Regions from separate parts of the Homo sapiens genome. Here all the other regions are linked to region 1. The links are contacts of gene promoters, found by promoter capture Hi-C in human tissues and cell types (Jung and others, 2019). All regions are on one chromosome and are shown on one strand. The core of a region is centred on a gene start or on the middle of the fragment in contact, and the rest is flanking DNA. Distances in the headings are between cores, read along the strand shown.

The links. Contacts are between HindIII fragments. The study calls those that stand out against the background at their distance.
Region 2: a fragment that was not itself captured here is called in contact with the fragment with the promoter of DLGAP1 in region 1 in 3 of the 25 tissues and cell types used here (H1 embryonic stem cells, dorsolateral prefrontal cortex and hippocampus).
Region 3: a fragment that was not itself captured here is called in contact with the fragment with the promoter of DLGAP1 in region 1 in 1 of the 25 tissues and cell types used here (lymphoblastoid cells).
Region 4: a contact is called between a fragment that was not itself captured here and the fragment with the promoter of DLGAP1 in region 1, in 2 of the 25 tissues and cell types used here (dorsolateral prefrontal cortex and lymphoblastoid cells).

Annotation. Positions count from the first base shown.
Region 1 is chr18:4,453,980-4,456,599 of GRCh38, forward strand. DLGAP1 (DLG associated protein 1) reads right to left here and starts at 1,328. Exons shown (of 13, transcript NM_004746.4): 1 at 1,027-1,328. RefSeq lists a silencer at 1,348-1,477. The HindIII fragment of the contact is 8,504 bases long and covers 1-2,620 here.
Region 2 is chr18:4,203,132-4,205,751 of GRCh38, forward strand. The region is part of intron 1 of DLGAP1 (DLG associated protein 1); the gene reads right to left. Among named protein-coding and RNA genes, the nearest start is that of DLGAP1-AS5, 60 kb to the right of the region's middle. The HindIII fragment of the contact is 4,142 bases long and covers 1-2,620 here.
Region 3 is chr18:4,626,305-4,628,924 of GRCh38, forward strand. No RefSeq gene overlaps it. Among named protein-coding and RNA genes, the nearest start is that of DLGAP1, 170 kb to the left of the region's middle. The HindIII fragment of the contact is 3,541 bases long and covers 1-2,620 here.
Region 4 is chr18:4,307,589-4,310,208 of GRCh38, forward strand. The region is part of intron 1 of DLGAP1 (DLG associated protein 1); the gene reads right to left. Among named protein-coding and RNA genes, the nearest start is that of DLGAP1-AS5, 44 kb to the left of the region's middle. The HindIII fragment of the contact is 5,265 bases long and covers 1-2,620 here.

The sequences.
Region 1 (2,620 bases), core at 78-2,577:
CGGTCGGGCTGGAGGCAAGCCCTGCAGCCGGGGGCGAGCGCGGCACTCGGACACAGGCACTCAGTGTCTCCGGCGCCGGCAGCCGAGCCACGGGCCACCCCTTCCCACGGCCTCCCGGTGCCACCCAGCGAGGCCGGGACAGCGCGCCTTCCGCAAAAAGCGCAGCAGCCGAAGTCCTGAAAGCAGGGTCTTCATCGCCGCGGGCCCTCCGAAGGTGCCTCTCCCAGCTGCAGCCGCCCCTCAATGAAAGTGCAATGTGTTATCTCGCCCAGCCCAGAGGAGAGGTCCCTGTTTGGCCTTGGTTCCAGCCCGGCTCATTCAATTCGCTGAATGTCGGGTCTCCCGGCCCGCCCCGCGATTCTCCGGGAATTGGCCTTGGCCGCGGGCAGGGGGCGACTCTCCAGTGACCTCCTCCTTGGACCCCATTTCTCTCTCTCTCTCTCTCTCTGTGCCTGTCTTTGTGTCTCTGTTTCTTTGGCTTTCTCTTACAAACGCACGGGGGAGTTGGTCCTTTTCCACAATGCCAAAATGTCACCCAAAAAGCTAGTGCAACAACTTGCTTTGCAAACGACCCAGGAGCCTGCCGAGAAAGCCCTGCGGGGAGCAGCCCCCTCCTCCCCTGCAAGGTGCATCGGGGGTGGGGTGGGGGTGCGAATTTGACCGGTGGACATGACCGGGACAGGGGACCGGTGTTCTCCTCCCCTCCCCCTTCCGGGACCCTGTCGCAATTAGAAATCCTTCCCCTGCCTGGGTCCCCGTGGGGAGCCGCGAGGACCGCATGGCCGGAGAGGACGCGCTCGCCCCCGAGATCCCAGGTTACCCGGAGGGCCCGGGAGTGCACCCCGGGCGGCTGAAAGGGTAAGGAGCGCGGACTCTCGAGCCAGCGGCCGGGGGAGCCCAGCCCGCAGCCCCTCCGCGGGCGAGGGAAGCGGCGACCGCGCGGCAGGCAGCAGCCAGGAGCCACCCAGCGCGCCGCGACCGCCGCCGCCGCGCACGCCCCAGCCCCGCGGCGCAGCCCGGCGTTACCTGGCCGCGTCCCGCAGTCCGGCCCTCGCTGGCTGCGTCCGTCCGTTGGTCCCACGAGCCTCGGAGGAAGGAGAGAGATGTCCCCGCGACCAGGACCGGCTCTCAGCGAGGTGACGGGAAGGACTCGAGAGAGGAGCCGAGGCGGCGGCGGCCGTTCGCGCCGCCTATGCTGCCGATTCCCCGAGGCGGAAGGTGTCCGCGAGGCCGTGTCCTGGAGATTGCGGCGCCCGAAGCGCAGCGCTCGCCTCTGGAGCGGAGGCTGAGCGCCGGGACGCGGCGGGCTGGGGCTGCAAGGCTGGGCTGGTGACCCGCCCCTGGGTGCATGTTAATACGGTGGGGAGGAGGAGTCCCGCGCTTCCTCCGCCCAACCACCGGAGCCGGCGGGCGGGCGGCGGCCGCGGCCCGGAGCCAGCCGCTCCCACCCGCCCCAGCTACTACGGCGCGGCGCGACCGCGGGCTCCGGCCCCAGCCCAGGCACGTGCGCCCAGGCCGCGGGGAGGCGCCGGCGCCTCCCGGAACGCGCTCCTGGCCTGCGAGTGCTGCCCGCTCAGTCTCCGGGTGGGAAGTGCGCTCGCCCCGGACCGAGGGGAAAGCCCAACATCCCCGGGATGGAACAGAGAGGCGGCCACCCGTGAGTGGGCGTGACCCATTGGTTCCCTTGCGCAGCATCTGTGGAGAATTAAGCTTTCCCCTCCTCTCTTGCCAGCCGTTGTTCCTAATCTTGTCTTTTTTAAGGGAGGAAAGCAGGAGAACTCATGACACTTTGTATCACAGGAAATCAAGTTGGTGGACAGAGGGTTTGCTGACCTCTCCCGTCCCTCCTCAGGGTCCCTAGGAGAATTTTTGAAGAAGTAATCGGCAGCAAGGAGATGGGGGCAATAGAGAGTCTCAGACTCGCAGGGACCCATGTTCGTCCCCAGCGCCACTACTTTCAAACCGTTATCCCTCAGAGCTGTTTCCTCACCTCCACAACAACTCTCCCGGGTTCGATGACACTATATATCCCACCAGTTCATCTTGGTACAGGCCAAAAGGTAATTCAAAAAGCGAAACGAATCTCATCTCCTGACCTGTGCCCTCGGTAAAGTCCCCAGGTTCCACCCCAAGTACACTTGGAAGCCAGGCCCCTCCACACAGGCTGAGCACCACGCTTCCACAAACTGAAAACAGAGAGAATCCACTTGGTTTCAAAGTTAGAATAGGGATAGCGGCGTGAGTGGGTGAATTGCGATGTGGGTCAAGGAGAGAAAAAAGTAAATCAATTAAGTATTTATTGAGCTCCTGCGCTGCCCACTTAATTGCAAACGTTACAGTAGTTAAAATAATCGTGGTTAATCACTGCCTTATTATTTCCTTCTATTAAAAAAAGAAATGGCATCTTCATGGAGAATGTCCTTTGTTCTACAGCTTCCTGAGGGAATATTATGCCAAAAAGTACATAATCTTTATGTAATTTTATCCAGAAGTTATAGCATAAGATTTAGCATCTGTTTTGTGTGATGTCTAATTATAAATATTAATAGAATATCCTTTTAAAGACAACACTTCTAAAAATGCAAGGAAGTGAAAAACAGTTTTCATAAAAATATGACTC
Region 2 (2,620 bases), core at 48-2,547, 250 kb before region 1:
GGGCGTGGTGGCGGGTGCCTGTAGTCCCAGCTACTTGAGAGGCTGAGGCAGGAGACTTGCTTGAACCCGGGAGGCGGAGGTTGCAGTGAGATGAGATCGCGCCACTGCACTCCAGCCTGGGCAACAGAGAGATTAAAAAAAAAAAAAAAAAGATACTCTTATAAAAGTGTGTTATTTTAAAGCATAAATATAGTATAAAATACTCTCTAGTTGCAAGAATGCATCCTTGAAATATTCATTAAATATTTTCTAAGGGCCCACATTTGTCATGAGGAAATATTTTAAGAACGGGTAGAATCGAGTTCCATTTTTCAAATCTTTAATATAGAAGCAGATATCAATTAATCTTTTAAAAACACAATTTTGTTTGCCATGAGCTTTTATTTGGGCTTCTACTTTGACACATGTTTTAGCTTTAAGGTATCTTAAAACGTAGGGGCATTTAAGCTTTTAGATCTCATAAAACTTCCTGAGAACATGCTCTGACTCAGTCAGGCCCAGAAAACAACCACTCTTTCTTCCTTTTCTCCCTCCCTGAAACATTTCCTGAGGGCCTCTCTGGTTCATGGTAACATGCTAGGCTCAGGGGAACACAATGATGACTAATACAACATGGTACTTGGCTTTGGAAGTTCATAGGTCAGTGGAAATGCAGAAATATACACATCTAATTACAGCACAACTCAGTAAGTTCAGTAATAAATGTATATGAACACAGGGTGCTTTGAGGCACAGAAGAGCAGCTTCCTACTCAGCCCGAGGAGGTCAGAAAGAACTCAGAAGAGGAGGCACTGAATTAATGCTTCAGCTGTTTTTCAAAATGCTTTCCTGGTAGCATCTCCGCAAACACAAGAAGCTTAGGATTTACCATGCTTCTAGATTTGACTGTCAAATAACACATGGTCCATAATTTTAAATCTGGTTGACTACAAAACTCTTCATTGTGAAAATAGGAAGTAACAGAAACCCAGTCATTATGCATTCATCTTCTATAATATTTAACTCGGCTTAATCGCCATAATTCTTTCAACTGTCTGTACATAATAGTGTCAATAAAACTAGAAGAGTTTGAATAGGTACTAAGGAGCAAACTCTTTTAAGATAATCTTCTTTTTAAAAAATGGTACTAACAGCAGCCTCAAAAACACAGCAGATTGCTTCGCTTTCCATAAAATCAGGACAAGAAGGTTGTTATTCTTTTCATTCTCCAGTAAGCTCAAAAGGTGGGAATCTTGCCAAGACAACTCAATGGGCAGGAAGTCATTTTCTCAGGAAATTTCAAAAATATCATTAATTCACTTTGATCTTTTACAATGATTATAAAACATTCATAAGGATGGCTGTATCTAGCAGTTTTAACTGACAGGACTGTTGTGGTTTTTTTTTTGTTTTTGTTTTTTTTTCTGACCGCAGTGCATCACATTAAAAACACCCTCCCTCCTCACCATCAATTTCACAGTGGAAAATCCAGGCAAAGTGTTTTATTCTTGCTTAACCTTGAAAGATATATGGTGTGCTCAATTGAAAAATCTATTACTTAATTAGTTTTAAGAGGTTTGACATCAAACAGGAATACATTTGAAATGTAGATGAAGTAAGAGGTAAAAAAAATTCAGTTTAGAATTGTAAAGGGACATGTTGGATGTTCCATGAAGGTCAAAGTCAATTCCTTTCCTTAAGTTCCCTCAAAAGACTTATATGCACGGAAGTATTCAGTGGTGGTAACTGAGGTGAGCCTTTTCCCAATTTTTTTTTTTTTTTGTGGTTTGTTTTCTTTCATAATCCATTTGAACTTTGGCTTGACTCTTCTTCCCCCCAACATATTAACTATCCATCATACATAATAATTTTGAAATCTGCTTTCTAACTGATTGCTTAAGGGGAAAATTAAGATTAAAGATAACAGACAAGAAAACAAATAATTACCAGGGAGTACTTTCAGTGCTTCAGTGCAGAATATACAAGTTGCTGTGGGAACCCTGAAAAGCATGTTGACAGATGCCTGAGGAGGTAATAGGAAGCTTTTCAGAAGTCACATGTGAACATGGCCTTTCAGGATTTGTAGATGTTCTCGGGAGGTTAAGAGGAGAAAGAGTAGTATCAGAAAAAACCACATACAAACCAGCACACATACACAGTAGGTGAGAACAAGTGGTCCTTTAGGAGATCTGAAGGGGTGCCATGGTGGTGTGTGTCTACGGCATATGGCACTAAGTGGATGGGATAGGAGGGGGCGATGAGAAGCTATGGTTGGTCTGTGAAGGATCTTGCAGGTTATGCCAATGATTGTAGATTGTATCCTTTGGACCTGCACTATCTGATATGATAGCCACTATCTACCTGTGGCCATTTACATTTCTTTCTTTCCTTTCTCTTTTTGAGACAGGGTCTCATTCTGTCACGCAGGCCAGCATGCAGTGGTGTGATCACAGTTCACAGTAAAGTCAAATTCCTGGGCTTCAGTGATCCTCTGGCCTTAGCCTCCCAAACTGCTGGGATTATAGGCATGAGCCACCATGCCCAGCCTTAAATGTCAATGAAAAATAAATACACCAATTCAGTTCCTCAGAGGCACTAGCCACATTTCAAGTGCTCAATAGCCACATGTGACTCATGGCTA
Region 3 (2,620 bases), core at 53-2,552, 170 kb after region 1:
GTAAGGTAGAGGATAGTTTTTTCTTTTTTCCAGTATGGATAGCGAACAGTTCAGGCATCATTTCTCAAAAAGACTATCTTTCTCTCCCACTTCTGCAGTGCCACCTTTATCATAAATCAAGTGTCCATGGTCACTGGGATCTGTTTCTATTCTGCTTTACTTGGTTCTTCTGTCTTTGTGCCAGGACCGCACTTTAATTTCTGTAGCTTTATGTTAAATGCTGGCAGTATAGCAGGTCCTCTCTTCTCAACTCTTCCAGAGTTTCTTCACTATTTTCTATCATTGTACTTCATATACATTTTAGAATCAACCTTTCAAGCTCCACCAAAAAATAGTTTATATTAAATAAAAAGTTCAGATTTTGACTAAAATTGCACACTGGAACTACGAGTCAATTTGACAACATTTACAATATTGAATCTACCAATCCATAAACATGGTTTATCCCCTCTCCCCATTTCTTTGGATATTTCTTTCACTACAGTTTTATAGTTTCTTTTTTTGGTCAAAACGTGCATACTTTAGGACGTAATATTCCTAAATACTTAATAATGTATCTCTAGATTCTTCTGCATTCTCTAAATATTCAAACACAATAATAACATTTTTATTTTGTCCTTTCAATTCTTAAAACTTTATTATTCTGTCTTATTGCCCTGGCCAAGACTTCCAGTGCAATGCTGAACAGAACCAGATATAGCAGGCATCTTTCTTTTTAGTCAATCTCAAGGAAAGCACTTGATGTCTCTAAACAGATACTCTTCCTTGAATTAAAAACAGCCCTACTATTAAATATTTCAGTCTTTAAAAAAATCAATTAAAAGAAGAGGGTAATATGTACTTCACAAGATTGTTTTATGTATTTAAAAAGATACTTTACATATAGTGTCTGGTGTAGATATCGCCTTAAAAATGGAAGCTTGTCTTATTACTAAGTCTTGAGTGGTGAGGACCATGGGCAAGGGAAAGTCCCCTTCAGAATAACCAAAAGATGTGAGTACAGCAAATTATATCTGATATGTTCATTCTATTTTGAAATTAATTATAAAGGAAGACAATCTCTCTTTGTAACTAAAACCAGACTTCATGTCCCAGTTCCCTACCCCACACTCTAACCTGAGGTGCTCATAAAGGTGAAGGTTACGAGGCTAAGGTGGGACTGTGAATTCATGTCACACTGCACTGCAGGGCTCTGGACTGCTCACACGTACATTTCACCCTGTTATTCCTGAGGCGTTTTTGGTTTGCAAAAACAATGGAAAGGCAGAAAGTGACCTAGTTGGAGTTGGGAGAGGCGGGAAAAACGTTCTCAGCATAGTTTTGAAGATCATCTCCTCCTCCATAGGTGAGCCACAGACACAGATGCTAGTTGTATCGGAAGTTGGCAGATGTTCTAAAGAAGAGGGTGAAGGATGAAGAGGTGGGAGCTTCTGTTCTAGGCTAGGCTGTGATGTTCCTACTTGCTCTTTTAAATATATTCTTTCTTCAGTCAGTAGCTCACAGAAATAACAATGGCCTCAAACACCCACTCTCCCTCCTCACATCTGCCTAACCTTCTATCCTTCTTAAAAGTAATGTGTTTCACTGCTTTGGGAAATTTTGAAAGAAAACGAGGCTTTTCAACCCCAATTTAAAAATTATTGACCATGTTCTACCAAGTGTTCACACTCTCAATCCCCAATAGAGACTAAATATAAATTTCCTGAAAAGCAAAAATGTATACTGTGTGATTCAGGTATATATACCTGAATATATGTGCATATATACCTGAATCTGTGATAATATAAAAGACAGGCAGTATGAACTGGGACTATAAAGAGTTGAGAAAAGGGTTGCTTGTGGTGTCTATTAGGGACGAAACACTAACAATACTTGGAATAATTTTCTATGAGGAGTAAGTGAAGAGCCAAAATTAGAAGTGAATTGCAGATCATAACCATGAATAGTGGAATGGCGTTGCCATTAACAAACATGAGGAACCCTGGAGGCGACGTGAGTTTGGGAGGCCAAATTCTGAATGTAATTTAGGGCATGCTGCATTGGAATCAAGAGGCTATTAGGTAAAGACACAAAAGTGACTATAGGGCTATTTTGAGAGAATGTATCAAGATCATACATATATGTAAATATATGTCTATACATATATGTGAGTGTATGGGTACACACATGGCTAAACATAAAACCAGTGATCTTGATGAATAGACCTTATCAGTTTACAGCAGGTCCTAGGATAAGGTTGTTTCATAACAATATTGATGAGAAAAAACAAACTGGTTCCTGACCAGGACCACTGTCTGTGTGGAGTTTGCACATTCTCCTCGCATCTCTGTGGGCTTTCTTCTGGTTACCTCCCACATCCCAAAGCTGTGTGAGTGAGTATGGGGTGTGTGTGACTGAGTGGCCCTGCAAGGGTGGTATCCTGTCCAGGCCTGGCCCCGCCTTACACCCTGATCTGCCAGGACAGGCTCGGCCACCTATGACTCTGAACTGAAACATTTGGGTATTAATGATCTTTCTTGTTTTTCTTAATCTTTCTTAAATGTGTGTATAGCTCACATTTATTTCAATGTTTAAAATTAGAAGTGTTTTGGCCTTTATTTAGAAATTTGTTGATGTTTTT
Region 4 (2,620 bases), core at 54-2,553, 150 kb before region 1:
TAGAGAAACAGTGCACCAGCCACAGAAATAGAACACGGCAGAGCCAGGCGGCAGGGCCTGCAGTCTCTGCACTCTGCCCCGCCAGCACTCTGTCCCTCAGGTAGCAAACTTGAGGGTTTACTTTTTTTTTTTTTTTTTTTTTTTTGAGGCAGAGTCTTTTTCTGTCACCCAGGCTGGAGTGCAGTGGCATGATCTCAGCTCACTGCAACCTCCATCTCCTGGGTTCAAGCTATTTTCCTGCCTCAGCCTCTCGAGTTGCTGGAATTACAGGCATGCGCCACCACGCCTGGCCAATTTTTGTATTTTTAGTAGAGATGGGGTTTCGCTACATTGGCCAGGCTGGTCTCAAACTCCTGACCTCAGGTGATTCCCCTGCCTCACCTCCCAAAGTGCTGGGATTACGGGCATGAGCCACCGTGCCCGGCCGAGGGTTTGCTTTATACCTGTCCCTGTACTACACTTCACACCTGTCATCCCATCTGAATGTTACCACAAACTGATGAGCAAGGCACTACTGTTGTTCACTTATGCACAAGAGGAAACTGAGGCTTATAGGGACTAAGTCACTTGAGGAAGACTGCTTGTCTGATAATTGGTGACTGGGTGACCCAAAGACTCTCTCCTGCCCTACAGCGCAAGTTTCTACTCACTGCCCTCTGCCTTTGCTCTACCAAATATCTGCAACCATGCAGAGGTACTCTATAACTGTACTGATTTCTACCAGGACTTAATAAACATAAACTTATTTTGAGCTACATAAAAATATCTAATAAATATGATAAATATGCTAGAATCATGAAACAGTGATCAAAACTACTGTATCTAATGGCTGCTCTTTAAAATAATCTGTGTATTACAAGCTGTAATAGCTCCAGTGACATTTTCAACTTCATGGAAGATAAATTTAACTAGAAAACTCCAATTATGGAAAGAATTATTTTTGTACCATACGTATAACTTTAAACATCCAATTTCATTCAGATATAGGAAAATCATAAAACCTTTCCATCAGATTAACAATAAAAACACAAGGACTACCCCCAAACTTACCTGACAAAGAATTAAATTAAAAGGTTTAAATTGGTACAAATAGTAGTAGGTCTATGATTGAGACTCAAGTAGGAAAGGGGAAGAAAAACCGGAACAACTTCAATTTCTATGTGAAGAGCTGGCGGCAAATCTAATTAACAACACAAAGCCTCAGGCGAAGAAGCTGCTATTCTACCCTTTGCCAAATAAAATGAACTTCATCTTTTAAAAGCTCCAGCCAAGCTAAAATAAGTTACTAAATGGTAAGACGTGTGAAATCCAAGCCCTTTAAAGATACAGAGGCCAGAACAACAAATGTAATTGCTTCATTCCTTAACAAGCGGATTGAAAAGTAAACACCTTGTGGTCATTATAACAACTAAGTCATATAAATATATTTGATGCAGTATAAAATAAAATAACGCCTATAGAAATATTCCATACACTGTAGGCCTCTACAGTTATCGGGTAAGATGTAGGTAGGTAGGTAAGACATGACAACACACATGGCTTTGCTTTCAACTAAGGGCTTGGTTACCTGTACAGTTTCTGGTGATAGCATCCATTGAGAATACACACTTTGTTCAGCATTGTGCTTTGGGGTTCAAGGATAAATTTACAGTATCATACATGTACTTCAGGCCTTCAAACCGCTTGGGGAAATGGAAAGAGCGCACATAGCAATAGCACTAAATATATGGCGGAAGATAAGCCAGTGCTGAATTTTGTGGGTCAGGTGAGAAAAGTTTTAAAATGCTGAGGGAGGTTTCAAAAGCAAGAGAGTGCAAGAGAATTTGCAGAGTTTGCAGATTTGATGGGATTTAGAACAGTAGAAGGAGGGGGCATGGATGAGGAGGTCAGCTCTGGAAGGCTGAGTCAGGATGAACTAAGCACTAAGAAGAGCCTCTATCTTCCCCGAAACTTTAATCACAGAACTGAAATACAAAGAGAAATAAAAAATCGTTTAGCCCATTTTTTTTCTTCCTTAGTCCAATGCCCACTGTCAGTGGAGAAGGAAAGATGCTGTAATTACAAAAGCCAAGGAAGCAACATGATGTCTTAGAGAAAAAGTGACAGCTTCGGATTTCTAGGAATGAGGTCAAATTCTCACTCCAGAAGTTTCCTCCCCTAGTGACCTAGGACAACTTATTTAGCATTTCTAAACCTCAGTTTTCTTATGTATCAAATGGGGGCATTAATAGTCAAAGAGTAAAAAAGGCTCCACAGGCTTTTTGAAAATGAAATTCAGATGAGATAATGTTTAGCTTCTTTCTCTTACACCATCTCTTCTCCACCTCTAGAGAAGGGCCTGAGTATCCGCTCTGCTTCAGTGTGAGTGGCTTCTTGGACACTGGTGATATTATGAAATAATTTTTCCCACTCCAGGCTAGACTTGAGGACTAAATATTGTGTGATCTAGCCATATTTTTGTATCTAATTCAATTGCAGGAGAAATGGGAAAGCTTCAATTAACACATTTTGTTAGAAGACCTAGGCTCTGACCTCACCTAGGAGATACTTCTGTGAAGGACTTATACCAGGATTTGGTTGGGTTAGAATCGTTCCTGTGGGAAATGAGACTCCTCATTCA